4 separate regions of the Homo sapiens genome follow, and regions 1, 2 and 3 are each linked to region 4. Evidence: promoter capture Hi-C in 16 types of primary human blood cells and fetal thymus (Javierre and others, 2016). All regions are on one chromosome and are shown on one strand. Each heading gives the region's core, a stretch centred on a gene start or on the middle of the fragment in contact. The rest is flanking DNA. Distances are from core to core; before and after follow the strand shown. Region 1 holds the start of BTK (Bruton tyrosine kinase). Region 2 has its middle 17 kb from the start of HNRNPH2. Region 3 holds the start of GLA (galactosidase alpha). Region 4 holds the start of ARMCX6 (armadillo repeat containing X-linked 6).

Evidence for each region. Contacts are between HindIII fragments. The CHiCAGO score rates a contact against its expected background, and 5 or more counts as called.
Region 1: a contact is called between the fragment with the promoter of BTK here and the fragment with the promoter of ARMCX6 in region 4, in 13 of 17 cell types (monocytes, total B cells, fetal thymus and 10 more). The highest score is 10.6, in monocytes.
Region 2: a contact is called between a fragment that was not itself captured here and the fragment with the promoter of ARMCX6 in region 4, in 1 of 17 cell types (neutrophils). The highest score is 6.6, in neutrophils.
Region 3: the fragment with the promoter of GLA here is called in contact with the fragment with the promoter of ARMCX6 in region 4 in 15 of 17 cell types (total CD8 T cells, activated CD4 T cells, M1 macrophages and 12 more); the score reaches 9.3 in total CD8 T cells.

The regions. Positions count from the first base shown.
Region 1 is chrX:101,384,642-101,387,462 of GRCh38, forward strand. It overlaps BTK (Bruton tyrosine kinase), which reads right to left and starts at 1,550. Exons shown (of 19, transcript NM_000061.3): 1 at 1,421-1,550. RefSeq lists an enhancer at 817-1,036. The HindIII fragment of the contact is 7,609 bases long and covers 384-2,821 here.
Region 2 is chrX:101,423,638-101,426,738 of GRCh38, forward strand. It overlaps a transcript of ARMCX4 not described here. Among named protein-coding and RNA genes, the nearest start is that of HNRNPH2, 17 kb to the left of the region's middle. The HindIII fragment of the contact is 2,367 bases long and covers 626-2,992 here.
Region 3 is chrX:101,406,351-101,409,347 of GRCh38, forward strand. It overlaps GLA (galactosidase alpha), which reads right to left and starts at 1,575. Exons shown (of 7, transcript NM_000169.3): 1 at 1,360-1,575. The coding sequence starts at 1,553. The region is part of intron 3 of RPL36A-HNRNPH2 (RPL36A-HNRNPH2 readthrough); the gene reads left to right. HNRNPH2 (heterogeneous nuclear ribonucleoprotein H2) reads left to right here and starts at 1,872. Exons shown (of 2, transcript NM_019597.5): 1 at 1,872-1,969. The HindIII fragment of the contact is 11,084 bases long and covers 1-2,997 here.
Region 4 is chrX:101,616,100-101,619,291 of GRCh38, forward strand. It overlaps ARMCX6 (armadillo repeat containing X-linked 6), which reads right to left and starts at 1,901. Exons shown (of 3, transcript NM_019007.4): 1 at 1,786-1,901; 2 at 1,404-1,485; 3 at 1-667. The coding sequence starts at 521. The HindIII fragment of the contact is 4,525 bases long and covers 1-2,391 here.

The sequences.
Region 1 (2,821 bases), core at 300-2,799, 230 kb before region 4:
ATAGCCATACGCAATGGAAATTTGGACTTCAACACAAGCAAGCAGTTTAAATAGTTTGAATATAAAAGGAGTCAGAATAGACAGGACAAGCCCTAAGGGACACTGTTTGGGTATAATGCTTTAGGTTGCCATGAGTATTTGCATTTTGTGGCTTATTTGGAAAGTGACATTATTTTATCAAATAACTGAGGCTCCAGAGAGGCTGGAGTCTGGGCAACTTATCCAAGGATGTCTTGATTGGGGTCACCAATCACTTTTATTCTAAATGTCATATTATTTGCTCTAGGTAGGCCCTCTGGGGGACATTGGCAGGTCTGAGGCAGAGTAAAAATTATAGCAAATACTGAGATCCAGCACTTACTATTGCCAGGCCCTGTTTTAAAAGCTTTACATGTATTTGCACATTTACTGCTCACAACCACCTTATGGGGAAGGTGCTAGGCAGGCAGGGAGGAGGAAATGGAAAGGGAAAGGAAAAGGGAAAAGAGCGGGGGAAGAAAGGAGCAAGAAAAAGTCAATGCAATTCGGCAATTATTTGTTAAGTGCTAACTGTATGTCAGGGTCTGGTAATCAACAGAACAGAGGAGGGTATAATGAAGAGGGGATATAGGTAGAGAAAAGAGGATGAGTGGGAAGAGGAGGAGGTTGGAGAGGAGGAAAGGAAAGGAGAAATAATGAAGACAAGAGAAAAGCAAGCCATGCACATGGAGGGCAATGGTAAGAGGAGAAACCTTTGCCACAACCTCAAGGGTTGGCCGCACTGTCTGGGCTGAGGCAGAGGCTGCTTTCTCCTGGCCCAGTCTTTTACCCATTGTTACCACGAGGTTGGCACAGCTTCCACACAGTCCTTTAATAAGCCAGCTCTGACCCTGGCGACATTTGGCCTGGTACAGCTCAAGGCAGGTAGCCTACACCCTGGCCTAGCCAGGCCTTTCCCTAGCTCACAAAGGTCAACTTCATAACGTGGAGCGTGAGCTTTTACCATGTTCTCAGAGAATCTGCCTCTTAGTATTTCTTTTTCTAAAGGCTTCATTGACCCATGTATCCCTATTGAGTCTTCAAGCACTATTTGACAGAAGGGCTTGTTTTTATCTGACTGCTCCCTGCAATATTACTTTTCCACTAAGTTTGCCAGAGGTACCCCTTTCTAACATTTGCTACCTGTTCGGATGGTCACCTCATGTCACATTTTTCTCTTCCTGTTCCGCCCACCCTCAGCCCTTGTCGGAAAGGACCCTTTCGGCCTCTCTAATCACCAGAAGGGACTGCCAGGGCCTTGTGCTGATGACACTCCCACCCTCCGTCAGCCTCCTCCACTAGCTGATAAATGGCACCAGCCATGCTGTCTCTCTGGTTTTTAGGGGTCCCAAGCAAGGTACATTGCTGCTGCTGCCCAGCCCCTGCCATACCCCAGACCCACCTCAGTCCTGACTTAATGCAGGTAGCTTCCCAGATGCATTGAGATGCCAGGACTTGGAAGGTGGGACTCGATCGCAGCAGACACTGGCCCTGGAGACATATTCTTACAGTCCAGAGAGGAAGGACAGTCTGAGCAAACCCCACCCTTTCACAGCCACTCAGTTCCCTTTTTTTGCTTCCTGACCTAAACCAATGTCTTTTTTTCTTCTCAGCAGCATGCTATCTGGTTCCCTGCTGCCGTCCCTATTCCACCCCCTCAACTGTCCCCGCCCTTCATTTGCTTGGGACCTCTGACACTACTATCTTGAGTCTATCTTTGAAAGAACCTTTCTCAACATGACTGGGGCCACTGAGACTCTAGATGGGGCTGGCCTGAGCAGACAGGTCATCAAGCTATCCTCCCAGAGGTAAAGGGACAACATACCTAAAGTACTATGAAGACAGTCAGCACAGGGAGAGGGGCTTACAGGAAAGAGGAGAGATGCTGGGGGCTGGCAGACACAGAGCAAAGAGACTGGCCAGGAAGAGCGTTTTTCGAGTCTCCTGTCCTCCGGGGCAGAGGAGTCTCAGGGACACACAGTTGAACTTGATAGTGAAGGGACCCCAAAGGACAAAACAAGACAGAGGTAGAGACAAGACTTCCCCGTGCTGAGTCATTTTCTAAGAAAGCATTTTTCCCCTACAGATAAAAATGTCGGAATATAAGCCCACAGAAATACTTGTGCCCTTCCCCATTTTCTGTGGATGTTGACTTTCTCCATTTAAGATTTGGCCTCAGGGATTAACTCTCAATGTCCACCTTTCTCTTGAGTCCTGTAAACCGGTAAAGCAGACTAGGTATGTCACTTGAAGCCTGGAGGTTTTCTCAGGGGCCCCCTACATTATGCTCCAACTGCAATGATTCCCCCAGGGATTCTCCTAGGAAATGCAGCCAGTATTGAATGCAGACCATGATGGTGGAGCCCCTGCTGACTGATCTGCCTGCCCACCTTGACACCTCGGGCACTGCCATATTTCCTTGCCCCAAGGCACTGTATCCTAATGTAGAAACAGATCACAGGTCCCACTACAATTTCATCCGAAGTTTTAAGTCAACAGGACCTTATTTTTTTTTCTTTATTTTGTCTAAAAAACAAACAAACAAGCAAACAAAAAAAATGGGGTATATGTGCAGAAGGTGCAAGTTTGTTACATAGGTATATGTGTGACATGGTGATTTGCTGCACCTATTGACCCATCCTCTAAGATCCCTCCCCTCACCCCCAAGCCCCAACAGGCCCTGGGACCTTTTTTTTTTTTTTTTTTTTTTGAGACAGGGTCTTGCTCTGAAGCCCAGGTTGGAGTGCAGTGGCGTGATCATGGCTCACTGCAGCCTCCACCTCCTGGGCTCAAGTGATCCTCT
Region 2 (3,101 bases), core at 559-3,058, 190 kb before region 4:
AAAAATAAAAAAGTATCTTTTGCATGCTAATGAGATAACTGGTGGCTGAGGCTCCTAGGTAGATTTAGGACGGGGGCGCTGGTCAAGGCAGGATTAGAGAGTTGAGACTTTTTCACCACACCCCCAGCCTCTGGGGAAGGGAGAGGAGCTGAAGGTTAAATTGACTAGCAGTGGCCAATGATGTAATCAATCATGCCTACATAGTAAAGCCTCTATTTTATTTATTTTTTATTTTTATATTTTGAGATGGAGTCTCACTCTTGTTGCCCAGGCTGGAGTATAATGGCGTGATCTTGCCTCACTGCAACCTCCATCTCACGGGTTCAAGCGATTCTCCTGCCTCAGCCTCCCAAGTAGCTGGGATTACAGGCATGCACCACCACGCCTGGCAAATTTTGTATTTTTAGTAGAGACAGGGTTTTGCCATGTTGGTGGGGCTGGTCTCGAACTCCTGACCTTATGTGATCCACCCACCTCGGCCTCCCAAAGTGCTGGGATTACAGGCGTGAGCCACCGTGCCTGGCTGTAAAGTCTATAAAAACCCGAAAGAATTGGGTTTGGAGAGCTTCTGGATAGCGAACACATGGAGGTACCTAGAGGGTGCTGTGCTTGTAGGGGGCATGGAAGCTTGGTGCCCCTTATCCTGTACCTTGTCCTATGTGATTGTTCCATCTGGCTGTCCATCTATATGCTTTGTAATATCCTTTATAATAAACCTGTAAACATGTTTTTCAGAGTTCTGTGACCCTCTCTAGCAAATTAATCAAACCCAAGGGGAGGGTCATGGGAACCCTGATTTACAGTGGGTCAGTCAGAAGCATAGCTTACAACCTGGCATCTGAAGTGGAGAGCAGTCTTGTGAGCCTGAGCTCTCAAACTGTGGGATCTGACACTATCTCCAGGTAGGTAGTAACAGAACTGAATTCAATTAGAGGACATCCAGCTGGTGTCCACTGCAAAACTGATTGCTTGATGTATGGGAAAATTCTCCCATACATCTGGGGCTACAGAAGCATTCTATATTAAATAGAGAGTATAGGAAAATCCACATTTTGTTTACTCCCCCCTGTATCTTACAGTGAGAGTGAGCGGTCAAGGGTGACTTCTCAGTTTCTGGCTTGTACAACTGGATGTTTGGAGTAACAGCATTAAGAAGCAGGACCTTTAAGATCACATTGAATACTAAGTTCAGGTATGAGGACTGTGAGTTTAGTCTTAGACATACTGTGTTTGACGTGCCTTTGAGAACACCCAAGAGAATATAGGTAGTTGGATGGATGGATCTAGAGCTCAGAAGGGGCCTATATATTGGATATATAAATTGTGTGCTATATGGATATAGTTGATAATTCAAGCCATGTGTGGGGATAAGGTTGTCTAGGCCAAAGAGTATCAGAGTGAGAATGCAGGAGATCAAAGAAGGAGGCTTGAGAAACTCCAGTATTTCATGTGGAGTACAGGAGAGTCAGCCTGCAAAGGAGACTGGGAAACAGCAGCCAGGGAGGTTTAAAAGAAAGTTAGGAGGGACTTGTGTCATTGAAGCCAAAGAAAGAAACTGTTTCAAGATGTAGGGAATGGACTGTTAACAATGTCCATTGCTGCTCAGAGGTCAAATAAGATGTGGACTGGTAAATATGTGTTGCATTTAAGAATATGGAGGCATTGGTGTCCTGGATGGATCTATTTTCATGGAATGACGGGGCAGAAATCTAGAATGGAACAGATTGGAGTGTGGTTAGCAGAGAGAGGAAGGCACTTTTTTTTTTTTTTTTTGAGACGGAGTTTCACTCTTGTTGCCCAAGCTGGAGTGCAATGGTGCGATCTCGGCTCACTGCAACTTCCGCCTCCCGGGTTCAAGCAATTTTCCTGCCTCAGCCTCCCGAGTAGCTGGGATTACAGGCGCACACCACCATGCCCGACTAATTTTTTGTATTTTTAGTAGAAACGGGGTTTCACCATGTTAGCCAGGCTGGTCTTGAACTCCTTACCTCAGGTGATCCGCCTACCTCAGCCTCCCAAAGTGCTGGGATTACAGGTGTGAGGTACTGCGCCCAGCCGGTAGGCAAGTAATGGAAACAAAGAATATAGGCAGCTATTTGAAGCACTTTGGCTGTGAAGGGCATGGAAAAGTCAGGGTAGAAGCAGGAGCGAGACTACGGGTCAAGAGAGGCCTTTCAAATTATTTATTTATTTATTTTTTTGAGACAGGGTCTCACGCTGTTGCCCAGGCTGGAGTGCAGTGGCACAATCACAGCTCACTGCAGCCTTGATTTCTTGGGCTCAGGCGATTCTCCCACTTCAGTCTTCTGAGTAGCTGGGATTAGAGGTGCGCACACCACCACGCTGGGCTAATTTTTGCATTTTTTGTAGACATGGGGTCTTGCCATGTTACCCAGTCTGGTCTCGAATTCCAGGGCTCAAGCAATCTGCCTGCCTTAGCCTCCCAAAGTGCTGGGATTACAGTCTTGAGCTGCTGCACCCAGCCAAGGACTTTTTTTAATGGAGAAATTTTGTGGATGTGTAAAGTTTACAATTAAGGGTCTGTAGGGAGTGAGTGGTTAAAAATACAGCAGAGAGATGGGATAAATCATAGAGTACGTTTGCTAAGAGAGAGGAGCATCTGGAATCGAAAGCATAGGTGGAGGAATTAGTGTTCACTAAAAGGCAAGAGCATCTCTGTCTTAATTGAGGAACTAACTGCTGGTAGGATGTGTGCAGGTATAGTTGGTTTATGTTTGGTGTTAGGAAGATGAGAGACAACTTCCTTCTAAAGGCTCCCCCAACCCCGTTATTTTTTCTGTAAATGAGGGTGTGGTCATCTGCATGTAGAGATAATAAGGAGGAGGAGTTGGAAGGCTGAAGAGAATGGAGAAGGTTCAATGAGTTGTAAGGGTGAGAGCAGGTTGTAGGTTGACCAGAGAAAAATAGAAGGACTGCTGAGAAATGTTGATGGCTCACTTCTGGTTGTTGATGGTAAATTTACTATGAGCCAAGCTTTATTTTTTTCTAAGTGCTTCTCTAAGTGTTCTAGTGTTTTATTTAATCCCCAAAGCAGCTCTATGAGGTAGGTATTATTATTATCACCCCCTTGTCACAGATGG
Region 3 (2,997 bases), core at 325-2,824, 210 kb before region 4:
AAAATAATGAAATAAAGAAATCTATGTTTTCATTTATATAGAAAACAATTGTAAGGTTGTATATTAACATTTAAACCATGATTATTTCTGGGTGGTGGAACGGTGGGGGGAAATCTTTATTTTCATTTTGCTCTTCTTTATCTACATTTTTTGCAATGATCATGCATTAGTTTTATAATCAGATGCAAATACCAATAAAAAAAAATCCGTGATGGGCAAAATTGCCACACATACTGTACCACAGGGTCACATGAAACTTACAAGGCCAATTTCTTCTGTGATGTCTGACCAACATCCTGACTTTATCTATAAAGATATTCATAGGAATAACTTATGGACACAGAAATGTACTGTGACTGCCACCTTTTACCAACATCTATCAGTGATTCCTAACCTTTTTTAAATCACAGAGCCCTTTGAGAATTTGAAGAAAGGTAAATATCCTCTCTCCAGAAAAATACACATATTCATTCAGATTTGTAGATTTACATTCATTTTCCCATTGAACATTTGCTCTGTAAGCGCAGTTGAATGGTCAAGCGCTGTGCTATGTACTTTAAATAGGTTATCTCCTTGAAAACTCACCTGTGTGAGATAAGAACTATTTTTCAGATTTTTTTTGTCAGCTCCCTGAAATTAAAAGGTTGTAATCCCAATTTACAGATAAGGATTGTGAGGGTCAGATATGTTCAATACCTATCTAATCCAGCCTCAACCCTCACGCAAAGGTGTAAATGTATAAAGTTCCTCCATGTCAACCTTCCAGCCTGATGCCACGCTCATGGGCGAGGTGGGAGAGATCTCAGCGACCTTATGGTCTCTCTAACTCCCTCGAGATACTGCCGAGAAATCCACGACCCCAAAAGGAGAAAAAATGGCACGAATCTTAGTTCCCCATTCCTCCTACCCACCCTAGATGTTCTAACGGTTAGCACCCGGCAGAGGAAGAGCAGAAGTTCACAAGAAGGGTCTGAATAGAACCGGGCAGGGCTACTTTGGGCACACTGCCTATGGGGTGGCCCTGCTCTGCAAGGAGCAGTGAAAAAAGAGAACCGGGCAGGGAGAGAGAGAAAGAGAGAGGAAAGAAGAGAAAGAGAAAGAGAAGGAGAACGAGAGAGAGAGAGAGAGAGAAAGAAACAGGGGCCGCTGGCCGGACTCCCATCCCAGGAAAGGTCACACAGAGAAAGTTTAGGGCTAGTCCTGATTCGGGACAGTTTGCTGGGGATAAAAAAGCAGCAGCAGAGTCGGGTGGGGGAGCTCTCCCTCGGGCTCAACTGTTCCCGTTGAGACTCTCCAGTTCCCCAAACACACCCAAACACATGGAAAAGCAAAGGGAAGGGAGTACCCAATATCTGATACCTGATGCAGGAATCTGGCTCTTCCTGGCAGTCAAGGTTGCACATGAAGCGCTCCCAGTGCAGCCAGCCCATGGTAGGCGTCCTTGCCAATCCATTGTCCAGTGCTCTAGCCCCAGGGATGTCCCAGGAAACGAGGGCCAGGAAGCGAAGCGCAAGCGCGCAGCCCAGATGTAGTTCTGGGTTCCTCAGCTGCATTGTCACGGTGACCGGACAGCATAAATTTCCGCGGGTAACCTGGGCTTTTAAGATTAACCTCAGGGGCGGACCAATCACCGATGACTTATTAAATAATGACGTTATTGTTTCTCTGGCAACTGGGACGGTTATCCCCAGAGGTAGACCAATAATCAGTCACGTAAGACGTTCCGCTAACCAATCACCCTCTTCCTTTCTTGATATTGACCCGCCCTATTTCCATACCAGAAGGAAGTGCGGCACCTTAGTGATCCCGAGTTTAAGCCGAGAGTTGCTCACGTGACCGAGATCTCACATGACGTAGGCGCTCACGTGATTACTCGCTTACGTGAGCAGAAGTAGTTCTGGTCGTCGTCTACCGTCTCGCTATAGCCGTTTGAGGGAAGAAGGAGGAAAATTACCCGGTATCGTTAGAGGTTGGTGTGTGGGTGGGAACTGGGGACCCAGGGGTGGTGATGATGAAGACCAGAGCGGGGTTCGGGGGCCGCCTCCGCCTCTTTCGTTCTCTGCTTTCCCCTCCCCCCTCGCGCTCTCTCCCTCCTCCCCCCCATCTCAGTGCCGGGAAGCCGCCTGTGCTGCGCCTGGTGGGGAAATGGTGGACGCTCATGACTGTGTATGTGTTTTTGTATATCTGTCTGTCTGGGCCGGTCTCGGGGGACCCCTAAGGGTGACCGTAAGGCGAAAAACGTTTGAAAACCACGGCCCTGAGTTAAGAAAAACAGATACTGAAAATAGTGGTCTGAGTGCTGGTCTATCCATTCAGGCACTCAGTCTCCACTGCCTGATTGTCTGTAAGGGGAGGCCCCAAGTGAATTTTATCTGTAGAGTCACATCTAGGCAAATGCGTGCTTGACAAAGGCGCCCAATAAATTACTTTACTGAATAGAGTATTTGAATAATGTTTATTTTTCTGCTGATAACAACAATCTACATATTCAATTTCGAACATTTGAAAAATAACAATATAGTATAAAATTTAAAAATACACATAATTCACCACCCGGAGACGACTGCTCAACCTGATGTCGTTACAGTTTTTTAAAAAATGTGTATAACACACATATAAATACACAAATTCTTAACTCACAAAGAGTCCTGGTTCCCACTTTAGCCAGCAGTCCTGATGGCCTTCCCAGGAGACGCAGTAATGAAGTAGAACCTCTCTGCCCCTACAGAAGGGCTCTTAAGGAATAGAGCGGTGCAGGGAATTAAATGGGACGGGTTATCCCAGGGATAAGGCAAGCAAAAAAAAAAAAAAAAATCCTGCAAAATGAAATAAAAAAACAGCTTGTAAATCTGTCACTGAGACCTTAGGATGGTTAATAGGAAAACTGTTATCACTGCAGATGCAGTGTGCTAGGCACATAATCGGCAATCAGTAAATGTTTGTTAAATCGTTTCCTCAGTGTAGTTTTATGGCCGTTATTACACTTTGTACTTTGTT
Region 4 (3,192 bases), core at 651-3,150:
ACAGTGGGGTCTGGAGTGGGGCTCGTGTTTCTAGCCATTGAGAGGCTGGCCAAATGGCTATTGATATCCTGGCTAAATGGAAAGCCCGCATCCTTGGGCTCGGCAAACAACAGTTTTCCCTGAATGAAAAGACACTTGGAGAGGTCCAGAACACAACTGCCATTTTTACAATTTTGAGCACTCCAAGTATTTTTATGTTCATAGGGGAATGGCCGCTGTTTTATTGGGTGTGCTCGGTTGGCCTTGCCTCCCCCTGAGGGCCTGTCCTCAGTGCCACCTGGGGCCCCAGGTTCAGTCCAATCCCCATCCTCAGTCCAGGGCCGAGCCATAGTTTCAAAATCAAACCAAATATCAGGCTCCTCCTCATCCAGCTCCTGGTCATCGTCCCACTCCTCTTCCCCCTCCTCCTCCAGCTTCTCACTGTCATCTCTTCCTATGGTCAGTTTGTAAACGCAGTAGCAGGCACCAGCCCCAATCATCAGTCCTGCCGCCATCCAACCCACTTCCCGAGCCCGGCCCATGCTCAAGTCTGTGCCAGCCTTGGGGCAGGACAGGAGAGGGCCTTGCTCCACCTGATTGAAGAGGTCTCTCAGGTCCAGGGTGAGTAAGGATGGAGGGTAGCAGTCTTCAGCTTCTTCCAGGCTCTTGTAGCTCTCTTGTGATGAATCTGTGGGTGAAACAGAGTATTAGGGCTCGGGACTATGTTTGGCTTTGTGCCTCACAGACAGGGTGGATTTCGAGTTGGTGATAAAGGCAGATTAACAGGATACAATTTCTTTGTTCTTTTCTTTTCTGTCTTCCTCTATCGACCTCAGGAGCCCCCATTTCTCTTCCTGGGTCCACAGGGAAGGGCAGGAGATGGGTCTCTGCTATGATAGCTAGGAGGGTGACAGTGTGAGTACCTCTCAGGTAGTCTCCTACACCAGACCTCCACCCCCAAAGATTAAGGGCAGTTTCTCTCATTAACCTCTACCAAAGTCAGATAAATTCCTTCGTTTTCCCTTGTCTTCTGTTGTCAGTGGTCCCTCCACGGTGATAGAGGATAGAGTCTGGCAGAAGGACAAATGCAAAGACAGGTAGGCGGCAATGGAGAAATGAAAGTGTAGTGGATGAACTGAGGACACAGGTCCCAATTTCTGTTTTTGTGAATTTTAGACACTTGAGTTTAAAATATTTCTCATACTCTACTGACTTTCCGGACGCAGGCCTCCTCCGCCCCACTTGTCGTCCGCCATTTCCCCAGCAAAGGCCGCCACACCCCTTTCCCTGCACTGAAATGGGAGTGGGTGTGGAGAAAGAAGGGGCCAGGAGAGGGCGACTCGGACCTGGCCCTCTCATATCCCAGCCCCCCTCCTCCGCCACCCCCACCCATGGTCCTGGGCTAATCCCACCTTCACACTGACCTGCAAGGTTCCAACCAAGGCAGTTTTCTCCTTCTCTCGCTGAAACTTGTGCCGAAACCTACAGGCCAACAGACCTACAAACCTGCAAACAGACAAGGGACCGAGGGGACGGAGTGCTTGGTGGACGGACCAGCACCCGGGACACTAGAACCTTTCTTTTCTCGGAGTCTCTGGAAACGCCATTCACTCCCCTCACCCCCACCCGAAACCCGCCACTTCTCTCTACTAAAATGAGCACGGGGTGGGGTGGGGGTGGGTAGCAGTATTTAGAAAGTAGGCGAGAAAGGGACCCAGCTGTGATCGGCCTGAACTCGGATCTGTGGCGTTCTTGGCCCTCTTCCACCCATACCTCCTCTCAAGCAGCGCCCACCCTCGCACCGACCTGCACGGTCCGAGCTAGTTTCCTTCTTTCTTCACACGCCTGCAGAGTAATAGGGGGCTGGTACCCAGACGGAGGCGACTAGCAGGACTTGTGCTCTAGGCGGCTCTTGGTCACGTGACGGCCACGTCACCAGTGCGCTCTGGCCCCCAATTTCCACTCCCACAAGCAGTGCGGCAGGCGCCAGCCTGCCTTGTATCTCCCCCTCAACCCCCACAGTGGGCCCTGTCACTTTTTTCCTCTGTAACAATACCAGAAACCAGAAGTGGCCCTGTCTTTCTGGTGTTTGAATTTATGTTTCTCTAATTCCAGGAAGGGGCAGCATCTTTAGGAAGGGGCAGCATCTTTTCCTGAGTCTACCCTTCATTTACACTTCTTGGGGAATTGTCTCATCCTTTCCTTGGCTCTGAAACTTCTGCAGCCCCTTTCTTAAATTTCTACACTTTTCCGTGTTCAGTCTCTACACCAACATTGGGTGAGGGGGCAGAAACGGAAGTCCAGGCAGTGGTGAGATTTTAATTAGTATTTTGATAACATTTAAGTTATATTTTGTCCTTTCTTTTTTATTGACTTGAACTACACTATTTTGTAATCGGAAAAAAACAATAAAGCTTTTCCCACTTGGAGAAGAAATAATTCAAATCTTTTTTTTTTTTTACAGATATATATATATATAACATAAGCAAGATTTCCCAGTTAATAGGAGGCCTCATTGATTTGATGAAGTTAGTTTGTATCAAGTTGAACATATTTTCTTCGGACTGCACAGGAAATAGCAGCTTTCAAACAACATATTAAAATGTAAAAACACACCCTTAGAAACAAAACCAGTTGTGCTTTCAACATGATTTATAAATTGATGGATAAATGAATCTATACCGAGAAGGTCAGTGTTCTAATTTTGACCATTTTAAGTAAGTGAACTATTGTCCCTTTCTTTCTCCTGGCTGAACTCATAGTATTAGGTGTCAGATGACTGAGATCTTCATAGAAGATTGCTGGGTGACTTTCACTCTGGCTTCAAAGGACAGATTTTATGCAGACCCCAACTTCAGATGAATCTTACATCTTCAGATGAACTTTACAGATTAGTGACTCCACAGATTAGCCTGCCTTTCATTCACAGGGCTTTATTTACAATCTATTCTGAAGTTTGTGGTGCAACCTATAAATCTTCCAGAAATTAGAGAATTTCCTGTTATCCTATTGATGAAAATGAGACTTGATAGAGGTAATTTTCTTTCCATCATGACACTGTTGGCGATCTCTCTGTTGTCTGCCATTCATGTATTTTATGCTACCCTAGCAGTGGTGAGTGTTCAGCATTTTCCAGTGGAGATGGTGGTGAGGGTCTGTGGGTGACTGGGAATCAGTGCAACACCCCTGATGTCTGTGTCATTTTTTCCCCTC